2 separate regions of the Homo sapiens genome follow, and region 1 is linked to region 2. The links are contacts of gene promoters, found by promoter capture Hi-C in human tissues and cell types (Jung and others, 2019). All regions are on one chromosome and are shown on one strand. Each heading gives the region's core, a stretch centred on a gene start or on the middle of the fragment in contact. The rest is flanking DNA. Distances are from core to core; before and after follow the strand shown.

Region 1 (5,964 bases), core at 1,947-4,446, 39 kb before region 2:
AAAGATATCCAAAAGGGACAAGAGGAGGTCAAATTATGTCTCTTCACAAATATGATTTTTTTACCTAGAAAACCCTAAAGATTCTACTAAAGGACTCCAAGACCGATAAACAACTTGAGTAAAGTCTCAGTATACAAAACCATGGTATAAAAATCTGTAGCATTTCTATACACCAACAATATTCAAGCCAAAAACCAAATCAAGAATTCAATCCCATTTACAAAAGCCATATGCAAAAAAATAAAATACCTAGGAAAACACTGACCAAGGAGGTGAAAGATCTCCATGAGAACTACAAAACACTTATGAAACAAATCATATATGTCATAAATAAACACAAAAACATCCCAGGCTCATGGATTTGGAGACTATCATTAAAATAACCATACTGCCCATAGTAATCTGTAGATTCAACACAATTCCTATCAAATCACCAATGTCATTTTTCAGAGAACTAGGAAAAACAATTCTAAAGTCCATACAGCACCAAAAAAGGGCATGAATAGCCAAAGTAATCCTAACCAAAAAGAACAAATCCAGAGGCATCACATTACTTGACTTCAAATTATACTACAAGGCTATAGTAACTAAAATGGCATGGTACTGGTACAAAAATACGCACACAGATCAATGGACTACAATAGAGAACCCCAGAAATAAAACCACATACTTACATCCAACAGATTGATCTTTGACAAAGCTGACAAATATAAACAACAGGGAAAGGACACCCTAATTCAATAAATGGTGCTGGGAAAATTGGCTAGCCATATGCAGAAGAAACTGGATCTCTGTCTCCCAGCATATACAAAAACTACCTCAAGATAGATTAAACATTTTGGACATTGGCCTAGGCAAACAACTTATGACGAAGACCCCAAACACAAATGCAACAAAACCAAAAATAAACAAATGGGACTTAACTAAAAAGCTTCTGCACATCAAAAGATAATCAACAGGGCAAAGAGACAAACTACAGAATGAGAGAAAACATTTGCAAATTATGCCTCCGACAAAGGACTAATATCCAGAATCTACAAGACACTCAAACAACTCAACAAGAAGAAAACAAAGAACCCCATTAAAAAGTGGGCAAAGGGCCAGGCGCACTGGCTCACGCCTGTAATCCCAGCACTTTGGGAGGCCAAGGCGGGTGGCTCACAAGGTCGGGAGATCAAGACCATTCTGGCTAGCACAGTGAAACCCTGTCTCTACTAAAAATACAAAAAATTAGCCGGGCATGGTGGCAGGCACCTGTAGTCCCAGCTGCTTAGGAGGCTGAGGCAGGAGAATGGCGTGAACCTGGGAGGCGGAGCTTGCAGTGAGCCAAGATCGTGCCACTGCATTCCAGCCTGGGCGACAGAGCAAGACTCTGTCTCAAAAAAAAAAAAAGTGGGCAAAGGACATTAAGAGACATTTCTCAAAAGAAGACATACAAGCAGCCAACAAACATGAAAAAATGTTCATCACTAATCATCAGAGAAATGCAAATTAAAACCACAATGAAATATCAATCATCTTACACAAGTCTGAGTGGCTATTACTAAAAAGCTTAAAAAAAAATAGATGTTAGCATGGAGGTGAAGAAATTGTAACACATATATGGGTGGCAGCAATGTAAATTAGTTCAACCACTATGGAAAACAATATGGAGATTTCTAAAAAAAAACAAAAAACCTACCACCAAGCCCCAACTCCAACATTAGGGATTACAATTCAACATAAGATTTGGGTGGGGCACAGATCCAAACCATATCATTCCGCCCCAGCTCCTCCAAAATATCATGTTCTCACATTACAAAATACAATCATCCCTTCTCAACAGCCCCCAAAGTCTTAACTCATTCCAGCATTAACTCAAAAGTCCAAAGTCTCATCTGGGACAAGCCAAGTCCCTTCCACCTATAAGCCTATAAAATCAAAAACAAGTTAATTACTTCCAAGATACAATGGGATTATAGGCATTGGGTAAATAGTCCCATTCCAAAAGGGTAAAACCGGCCAAAAGAAAAAGGCTACGGGCCCCATGCACGTGCTAAAACCCAGCAGGGCAGTTATTAAATCTTAAAGCTCCAAAATAATCTCCTTTGACTCCATGTCTCACATCCAGGGCATATTGCAGCAAGGGGTGAGCTCCCAAGGCCTTGGGCAGTGCCACTCCTGTGACTTTGCAGGGCTCAGCCCACGCGGCTGCTGTCAAGGGCTGGCAATGAGTGGCTGCAGCTTTTCCAGGTGCATGGTGCAAGCTGTCAGCGGATCTACCATTCTGGGGTCTGAAAGATGGTGGTCTTTCTCACAGCTCCACTAGGCAGTGCCCCAGTGGGGACTCTGTTGGGGGCTCCAACCCCACATTTCCCCTCTGCACTGCCCTAGTAGAGATTTTTCCATGAGGGCTCTGCCCCTGCAGCAACCTTCTGCCTGAACATCCAGGCTTTTCCATATATCTGAAATCTAGGCTGAGGCTCCCAAGCCTCAATTCTTGGCTTTCAGCACCTGCAGGCTTAACAGCATGTGGAATCTTCCAAGGGTTTGGGCTGGCACCGTCTGAAGGCCTGAGCTATATCTGGGCCCCTTTCAGCCATGGCTGGAGCTGGAGTAACTAGGATGCAGGCAGCAGTGTCCTGAGGCTGGCAGGGCCCTGGCCCAGGAAACTGTTCTTCCCTCCTAGGTCTCTGGGCCTATGATAGAAGGAGCTGCCTTAAAGGTCGCTGAGATGCCTTGGAGCCCTTTTTCCCATTGTCTTGGCTATCAGCACTTGGCTCCTCTTTACTTATGCAAATTCATGCAGTCTGCTTGAATTACTCCCCTATAAATGGGTTTTTCTTTTCTACCACATGGTCAGACTGAAAATTTTCCAACTCTTCTGCTCTGTTTCCCTTTTAAATGTAAGTTCCAATTTTACATCATTTCTTTGTTCATGAATATGAGCACTGGCTGCTAGAGGCCAGGTCACATCTTGAACACTTTGCTGCTTAGAAGTTTCTTCCACCAGATACCCTAAATCACCTCTCTCAAGTTCAAAGTTCCACAGATCCATAGACCAGGGGTACAATGCCACCAGTCTCTTTACTAAAGCATAGCAAGAGTGGCCTTTACTCCAGTTCCCAATAAGTTCCTCATCTGCGGTCATTCTGAGCCCTCCTCAGCCTGAACTTCACTGTCTATACCACTATCAGCATTTTGGTCACAACCATTCAACAAGTCTCTAGGAGGTTTCAAACTTTCGTTCCTCTTCCTGTCTTCCTCTGAGTCCTCCAAACTGTCCCAACCTCTGCCCATTACCCCATTCCAAAGTTGCTTCCTTCTACAATTTCAGGTATCTTTATAGCAATGCCCCACTCCCAGTACCAATTTTCTGTATTAGTCCATTCTCACATTGCTATAAAGAAATACCCGGAACTGGGTAATTTTTTTTTTTTTTTTTTTGAGATGGAGTTTTGCTCTGTCACCCAGGCTGGAGTGCAGTGGTGCAATCTCGGCTCACTTCATCCTCTGCCTCCCAGGTTTAAGCAATTCTCTGCCTCAGCCTCCCAAGTAGCTGGGATTTCAGGCGCCCACCTCCACAACAGGCTAAGTTTTTTTTTTTTTGTATTTTTAGTAGAGACGGGGTTTCACCATCTTGCCCAGGCTGATCTTGAACTCCTGACCTCGTGATCCATCCACCTCGGCCTCCCAAAGTGCTGGGATTACAGGCGTGAGCCACAGTGCCCAGCCGGAACTGGGTAATTTATAAAGAAAAGAGGTTTAATTGGCTGACGGTTCTGTAGGTTGTACATGAAGCATGGCTGGGGAGGCCTCAGGAAATTTACAATCATGGCAAAAGGTAAAGGAGAAGTAGGCACATCTTCACATGGCCAGAGCCGGAGGAAGACAGAGAGGGGGGAGATACTGCACACTTTTAAACAACCAGATCTTGTGAGAATTCTATCACAATAACAGCTCTGGGGGATGGTGCTAAACCATTAGAAACCACCCCCATGATCCAATCACTTCCCACCAGGCCCCAGATCCAACACTGGGGATTACAGCTGAACATGAGATTTGGGTGGGGCACAGATCTAAATCATACCACCCCACCATTACACAATATACCCATGTAACCTGCACATGTATATCTTGAATCTAAAATAAAATAAAGTTAAACAAAAAAAAAGATTCTGCCCTCAAATGCTGGCTCCTTTGTGAAACCTTCCCTCACACTGTATTGTTTTGAGAGAGGGAAAAAAAGCTCCTTCAATCTTCCTATATTTTGCATTTCCACACTCAGAAGTACATGACTTCACTTTGCAATATCACTCTCTCTATATATTGCTTTTCACAATTTGCCTGCTTCTCAAAGTCCCAACTCCACAAAACTTATCAAAAGCAAGTTTGAGAGGAGGAGCTGTCTTTTCTTCTTTGTATCACCTAATTCAGTATCCCGCACATAGTGGGTATGCAATATTTGTTGAATGAATTTAACTATTTGCCTTTTTACTTAAACGTATTATAATTCATCAGAATAAAATCTAAAATACATAACAATTATCAAGTCAAACATATGATCAATGATTCATAAAGACACATCTGAAAAATCAAATTATTTGCGAATTATTGGCTGTTTTTGCAATCCACTCTCTTTTGAGCCACAGGTAATTTTTATTCCTTTGCCACATGGTCTGTAAACATTATTTTCAGAGAGGTAAGACAACCAAACATCATGCCATTTCCTAATCAGCATTAGACAATAGGTTTCTCCTTAGACAAGCAGTGATCATAAGTCAGCAAAATAAGCAGCAAGGGCAGGGAAAAAGGTAGAGTAGCCAACTATGTCTTTCACTGAAATTAGTATTAGAATATCTTATATTTTGGAGAGCAGAAAATAAGGATTTTTTTAAACTTAAAGGTGGGGGGTTAAAGGTATGACGTGAGTTACAATCAAGACTGGAAGAACCAGACTAAAGGAGGCAAGAACTCATAGTCAAAGATACTAAAGTTCAAGCAAAGGCGGTGGCAGACCCAGACCAGAGAGCAATCCCAGAGAGAGAGATGGTTATTCAGGTTGGAGCACTTAGAATATGAGGAATGAGGAAAGCCCTAAGTTTCTTCTCTAAAAAAGAACAGAAGGCTAAGCCAAGACTCTAGCAAGGTGGGGTAGAGTCTAAAAGAAGTCTTGTAGCAGAAACACAGAAGACAGTGGAATCTAGCCAAAGAAAGATAGTACAGGAAGTTCAGCATCTACTATTATCTGAATGTTCTCTCCAAAATTCAGGTTGAAATTTTTTTTATAAATTACTCAGTCTGTGGTATTTTGTTATAGCAGCACAAAGATACAACTGTAGGAGCAACATTTTCAGAAGGTGAGAGGAAATGGAATCCAGGGTGTAAGTACACAGATTAGATTTATCTGGGAATAGAGACATTTAATGTATTTCAATATGAGAAAAAGTAGCAGAATAGGTACAAATGTAGATAAGCTAGTGAATTTTGAGGTAGAAAGAAGAACTTGCCTTGTGATGGCTTTCATTTTCTCAGTAAAGACAAGGTCTAAAAGAATGAGGTAGGGGAGAGAGGAAAGGAGAGTTTAAATTAGAGGCTTCAGAAAGGAGGAAAATGTTTGAAATATTGATTTTCAAGAATAGACATAGTAAAGAATTGTGGGAGTGTTAGCAGTATTTAATGTGCATTTGCGACTGAGATTGTTTCTTTAAAATGAGACTAATCAGGGCCAGGTGCATTGGCTCGTGCCTGTAATCTCAACACTTTGGGAGGCCAAGGGATGAGGATTGCTTGAGCCCAGGAGTTCAAGACCAGCCTGGGCAACATAGAAGACCCTGTCCCTACAAAAAATTTTAAAAACTTAGTAGGGGATGCAGTGGTGCATACCTGTGGTCCCAGCTATTCAGGAGGCTGAGATGGGAGGACTGCTTGAGCCCAGGAGGTCAAGCCTACATTGAGCTAGGATCATGCCACTGCACTCCAGCC
Region 2 (6,288 bases), core at 3,789-6,288:
GTGCAAGAGCTGTGGAAGCATTATTGGCCTCCACCTAGAATTCAAAGGATATCTCAGACACTGTTGGGGCCCAAGCAGAGACTTGCTCTGGGGGCAGGGACACTGCAGAGAATCCCCACTAGAGCAGGCCTTAGTGAAGCCATGGGGGTAGGGTCTCTGCCCCAGAGACCCCAGACCTATAGAAATGCCAGCATGCAATGCCAACCTGTGAGAGCCACAGGTACCCAACACCAACCTGTGACAGCTGCTCCATGGGCTGTGCCCAGCAAAGCTGCAGGGGTGGGGTACCTTGGGGCCTTGGGGACCTTAACCTCTGCCCCAGTGTGTTCAGAAGGCAGGACATGAAGTAAGGGAAGGTTGTTCTTAGGCCTCAAGATTTGGTGGTGTTTGCCTTGTCGAGTTTTGGAGTTGCTTGGAATCTGTCACTCCTTTCTGCTTCCCTATTTCTCTCTTTTGAAATGGGAATGTTCATCCCATGCCTAAATACACCATTGTACTTTTAAAGCCCTTAGCTTGTTTGATTTCTTAGATTCAAAGCTGGAGGGAATTTGTCTCAGGATGAATCATACACTGACTCTTACCCATATCTGATTTAAATGAGACTCTGAATTTTAGACTTTTGAGCTGATACTGGAATAAGTTAAGACTTTCGGGGCTACTGGGAAGGAAGACATGTATTTTGTATGTGAGAAGGATATGAATTTTGGGGGCCACAGCAGAATGCTGTGGTTCGAATGTGTCCCTTCCAAAATTCAGGTGTTGGCAATGTGATGGTATTAAGAGGTGGGGCCTTTAAGAGGCAATTAGGCCATCAAGATGCCTCCCTCATTAATGGGAGTAAAGCCCTTATAAAAGAGGCTTCATAAAGCGTTCTGCTCACTTGCTCTTTCACTCTCTCTTGCCCTTCAGCTTTCTGCCATGTGAGGACGCTACCAGAAGGCCCTCATCAGAAACTCAAACCTGCAAGAGCCTTGATCTTGGACTTCCCAGCCCCCAGAAGTATGAGAAAATAAATTTCCATTTTTATAAATTACCCGGTCTCAGGTACTTTGTTGTAGTGCCACAAAACAGACTAAGACATATCAATAGAAAGAAGAATATGAGTGTGTGTGGGTGCTAAGCAGCGAAGGAGTTGGATTTAATGGACATTGCATTTGTCTTGTTTTCATATTTCTCTATATAGGTACCTTCCTTTGAGGATTGCTACAGTCTTTTTCAAGTAATTATGGTGGAGCTGTCATTTACACCCTGCGTTTAGCCAAACCACTGGTTGGGCATGTGACTAAGTCAATTAGAATCTTTCTCACAGGAATTTATTTACCTATTTATTTTTGAGATGGAGTCTCACTCTGTCACCCAGGCTGGAATGCAGTGTTACAATCTTGGCTCACTGCAATCTCTGTCTCCTGAGTCCAAGTGATTCTCCTCCCTCAGCCTCCTGAGTAGCTGGGACTACAGGCATGGGACACCATGCCTGGCTAATTTTTGTGTTTTTAGTAGAGATGAGGTTTCACCATGTTGACCAGGCTGGTCTCAAACTCCACACCGCAGGTGATCCGCCTGTCTCGACCTCCCAAAGTGCTGGCATTACAGGCGTGAATCACTGTGCCCAACCCTCCCAGGAATTTAATTGTTATAGTGGCAGTGAATGCAATTGAAGTTGAATTATCACAAGAACAGTTCCCTGTAATCCACAGAACAATCATGAGATGTGGGAGGTTCTAATGGCAGTTAAAATTCGATTTTTCTGCATAAAAGAGAATATCCAGATAAATGTCTTGAAAAGGTTTCTCACCTGGAAGAGATGTCTAGATGCAGGTGGTTCAAGACTGATATGACCCCTTTACAACATCATTCTGCCTTCCCATCCTTAGTATGTGGGTCTGACTTTCAGGTTCCAAGTGTGAAAGAAAATAAAATCTTGGGACCCCAAACTCACTATGCCAAAGGAGATTTGAGCTTGGCAACTGAGTTGGGGCAATACTGCCTACCATTTTGTTTCCAAACAGATGGTTGTAATTTCACAATTCCATGCCAGAGCCTTATATATAAGTCAGATTCCCACAATAATAGAAGGCCATACACCTTCCCAGATGGCCTCCCTCACAAATTACAAAGAAATTCCCTGCAAGCCCCTAAATACATTTCTCCCTATAAACCAGCCCTAAAATCTGTTAAATCTCACAGTGACTGGTATGAGATGGTTTCTCATTGTTTTGATTTGCATTTTTTTGATGATTCGTGGTGTTGAGCATTTTTTCATACGTATGTTGGCCGCTTGTATGTGTTCCTTTGAGAAGTGTCTGTTAATGTCGTTTTCCATCAGTCAGAATGGCAATTAGTAAAAAGTCAAAAAACAACAGATGTTGGCGAGGCTTCAGAGAAAAGGGAATGCTTATACGTTGTTGGTGGAAATACAAACTAGTTCAGCCACTGTGGAAAGCAGTTTGGAGATTTCTCAAATAACTTAAAACAGAGCTACCATTCAACCCAGCAATCCCACTACCTGGTATATACCCAAATGAAAATAATTCATTCTATCAAATAGACACATATACCCATATGTTCATCACAGCACTATTCACTATAGCAAGGGCGTGGAATCAATCAAAGTGCCTGTCAACAGTGGATTGGATTTAAAAAATGTGGTACAGGCTGTTCTGCCTATGGAGTACATTTTTTTTTTATTCCTTCACTTTCTTAATAAACTTGCTTCCTTTTTTTTTCTTTTTTTTTTCTTTTTCAAGACAGAGTCTCCCTCTGTTGCCCAAGCTGGAGTGCAGTGGTATGATCTCAGCTCACTGCAGTCTCTGCCTCCCAGGTTCAAGTGATTCTCCTGCCTCAGCCTCCTGAGTAGCTGGAATTACAGGTGTGCACCACCATGCCCGGCTAATTTTTGTATTTTTAGTAGAGACGGGGTTGCACCATGTTGCCCTGGCTGGTCTCAAACTGTTGACCTGAGGTGATCTGCCCACCTTGGCCTCCCAAAGTTTTGGGATTACAGGTTTGAGCCACCTCACCTGGCCTATTATTCTTTAAACCATGTATATAAAACCAAGGTTAGGTATCTGAAATGGGAATATGAGGCAAAATAATTAATATGTATTGAATCAGACAACACATGTGATTTCTGCCCTTCTTTATTTATCGCCTTCATACTAAAGGACATTAGCCAGGTAATATCAATAACTATTTTCAAATGAGAGAAACAGAAACAATCATTTGAAATAAATTCAGCTACAATGCTTTTGTTTATTTACTGTACAAAATGATTAATGTTCACCAGTATTATTATTTCATTCTTTAGGATCATTTCTGTCTTCAAAAAGCAAATATTTATTTGAGGACTTACTAAATGCTCAAAATGCTGGAATACTTGAGGTTCTTATAGTCTGACCGACGAGAGAGATACCTTAATCATTAAAAATATGTATACCATTATACAATTGGTAAAAGTGGTTTGTGCATAGATCAAGAATGCATCATGGCTGCTAAGTCATGCCAAAGTCAATTGATTCTTCTTATTCCAATTCTACACCTGTAGGGTAATATACTGACAGTGGGGATGGGAAATACATGTAACTCAAATGGTATGTCAACAAATAATATTAATTAAGCAATCATCTCTCTCTCTCTCTCACACACACACACAGACAGCTACCGAGTTTGCAAAAACCGGATTTTGCAGAGCAATGGTCCTATCTATCTCATATTGTCTGAAATTCCTTTCTTTTTTTTTCTTTCTTTCTTTTTCTTTTCTTTTCTTTTTTCTTTTTTTTTTTTTTGAAACGGAGCCTCGCTCTCTCGCCCAGGCTGGAGTGCAGTGGCGCGATCTCGGCTCACTGCAAGCTCCGCCTCCCAGGTTCACGCCATTCTCCTGCCTCAGCCTCCCGAGTAGCTGGGACTACAGGTGCCCACCACCATGCCCGGCTAATTTTTTGTATTTTTAATAGAGACGGCGTTTCACCGTGTTAGCCATGATGGTCTCGATTTCCTGACCTCGTGATACACCCGCCTCGGACTCCCAAAGTGCTGGGATTACAGGCGTCAGCCACTGCGCTCGGCCTATTGTCTGAAATTTCTATCTAGAAATCTTTCCCCATAGTACTTAGAGGATTTTTATAGAGATCTTGAATTTTCTTTCAAAATAATTTTAAAATTAGACCAATTTAAAATCCCATCATGGTCATCTTGGCCTTATGGCTTCAAATAAAACTAAAGCAAGGAATTCAACATAAATACATATTTAGCTGTTGCTATGTTTGAAGCCTTGTGCTAAAGTATGGTACAAAGTTGATTCTGTCAGGGAGAAGCACAAGGAAAGGCACTTTTACAACGGCATGTTGGTCCAGTAAAAGTTCTGCAGCTACTCCTCTCTAATTTAAAAACATATATATATATATTATATATATATATATATATAGCTGCATTAGACACTTAGGTTTTGCAAAAGATGCCTTCATTTCTCATGATGGTATATACATACGTTCTGGATTACTTGTTACTTAAAAATACTGACTTTTGTCCCACGTGTTCCAATTTTAGGTTACATAAATGAGCACACTACTCCGGACCCACATCTCCTGTAATTCAGTGCCTAACTTTCTACCAACAAAGATCCGTGCCTTTCATCCTGAAGTGGGCATAACGGAAAGAGACGCAGAAACCTACGTGGGTTTAAATCCTAGAGGGCTTTGGTGAAAAGTCCCTAATCTCGGTTTTCCACGTCACTCAAATGCAGGGCCACATTAGATAGCCTTTTCAAGGTCCTTCGCATCTGCAGACTTCTGCGATTAAAACGCATCTCTTTTTGGAAGATAATTCACCTGAAGCTCCTCTGGGAAATTAGCTTGCTGAGGGCCAGACCAACAACCGGGTAGGAGCGAATCTGGTTTCTCTTTGAAAAGCCTTCCTAGGGTTAGCATCCAGGGCCAGCAACGGAGCGCGCCCCCGAACCACGTGTCTGCGCCAGCTGCCGGATTGGCTGAGCGCATTTTAGCGCTGCGGTCTAGACGCTCGCGGTCCCGCCCAGTTGCCAGAGGAGCCGGGACACCGAGGGAAGAGGCCGGAGGGAGATCGCGGAGGGGAGGGGGCGGGAGGGGGGTGGGGTATCCTGAGTCGTCCGTGGTCCGGAGTCTGGAAGGCCCTAGAGCGGCGCCAGTCGACCCGCCTCGCCACAACTTGCCCAGACCAGACACGTTTCATCCTGCGCCCTGCAAGAAGGAGCCGGCCTGCCTCTCTCCGCTTTGCTGCTCCTCGGCCTCCGCGGGCCCGGCCCGCGTCAGCAGCGACCCTGGGGTCTGGGTCCCCTGTGTCGCCCCCGCCCGCCTGCAGCGCCCGGCACCCGCCCAGGAGCGCGCAGCTGGGGTGAGCCGAGACCGGGGATGCGCCAGGCGCCCACAGGAGGTGGCTGACGGGGCATCCCGATACCCGCGAAGCCGGCCCTCCTGCCTCTCCAGGCTGCGAGCCGAGCCTCTGCAGATCCAGCTGGAGTAGCCGCCGCTGCCCCCACTGCCTGTTTGCCTTCCAAGGAAGGGCGCCGAGGTTCCCCTGGAACCCGCGTCTCTCGGCTTTTGTCTGCTGGTTCGGCTGCCCGGCGGTGCCATGCGCCTGGGACTTGAGGCGCCGCGCAAGGCTGGGGGCCCTGCCCGGGATGGGGGAGGGAGGGAACGGGAAAGCATGCCCCCTTCTTTCCTGTTCCGGCCATCTTGTGACCGAGATCCACGCAAGGGGAAAGGGGTGGTCAGCGGCACGACGCCCCACGATGGAGTGTGGCGGCCAACGGAGATGGGTACCTCGGGCCCGCAGGCCTCTGCGCCCAGATCTCAGCGGGGGCGCGCGGGCCACCCCCACGTTCAGCTCTGAAGCCCTTGGCCCAGATCATGGGTTAATCGTTCTAACAGGCCAGAGGCAGCAAAAATAGGAGGGATAAAGGGCCAGGAGCTGATGTTTCCTTAACTAAGCGCCTAAGTCATTCGATCGTTCTTCATTCACGTGTCCATTCAGCAAATTCTGAACGCCTTCTCCGTGCCTGTCCTCTGCTAGGTTCTAGGGACGTATACTTGAGCAAGAGAGACCACAGCTCTTGTTCCCGCTGATCCTGCAGCCCAGTGGATGGAGTCCAGAATCTACAGACCTGCCAGGTCGGTGTCTTGATGCTCTTAAACAGATGGAGGAAGCTAAGTCTTAGAGCTGACAATTTGTTCTAGATCAGGGAGCAAGTAAGTGACAGAATCAAACTTTGAAACTATTTATGTCTTTAGCACTTTTTATGCCTGGTTGCAGGGA

The links. Contacts are between HindIII fragments. The study calls those that stand out against the background at their distance.
Region 1: a contact is called between a fragment that was not itself captured here and the fragment with the promoter of DZIP1 in region 2, in 1 of the 25 tissues and cell types used here (H1 embryonic stem cells).

Annotation. Positions count from the first base shown.
Region 1 is chr13:95,681,395-95,687,358 of GRCh38, reverse strand. All of the region lies in intron 1 of DNAJC3 (DnaJ heat shock protein family (Hsp40) member C3), which reads right to left. Among named protein-coding and RNA genes, the nearest start is that of DNAJC3, 7.2 kb to the right of the region's middle. The HindIII fragment of the contact is 3,910 bases long and covers 1,242-5,151 here.
Region 2 is chr13:95,643,456-95,649,743 of GRCh38, reverse strand. DZIP1 (DAZ interacting zinc finger protein 1) reads left to right here and starts at 5,038. Exons shown (of 23, transcript NM_198968.4): 1 at 5,038-5,367; 2 at 6,046-6,143. LOC124903194 (a long non-coding RNA gene) reads left to right here. Exons shown (of 2, transcript XR_007063840.1): 2 at 910-1,033. RefSeq lists an enhancer at 4,826-4,875 and silencers at 4,966-5,075, 5,166-5,255, 5,316-5,425. The HindIII fragment of the contact is 16,516 bases long and covers 1-6,288 here.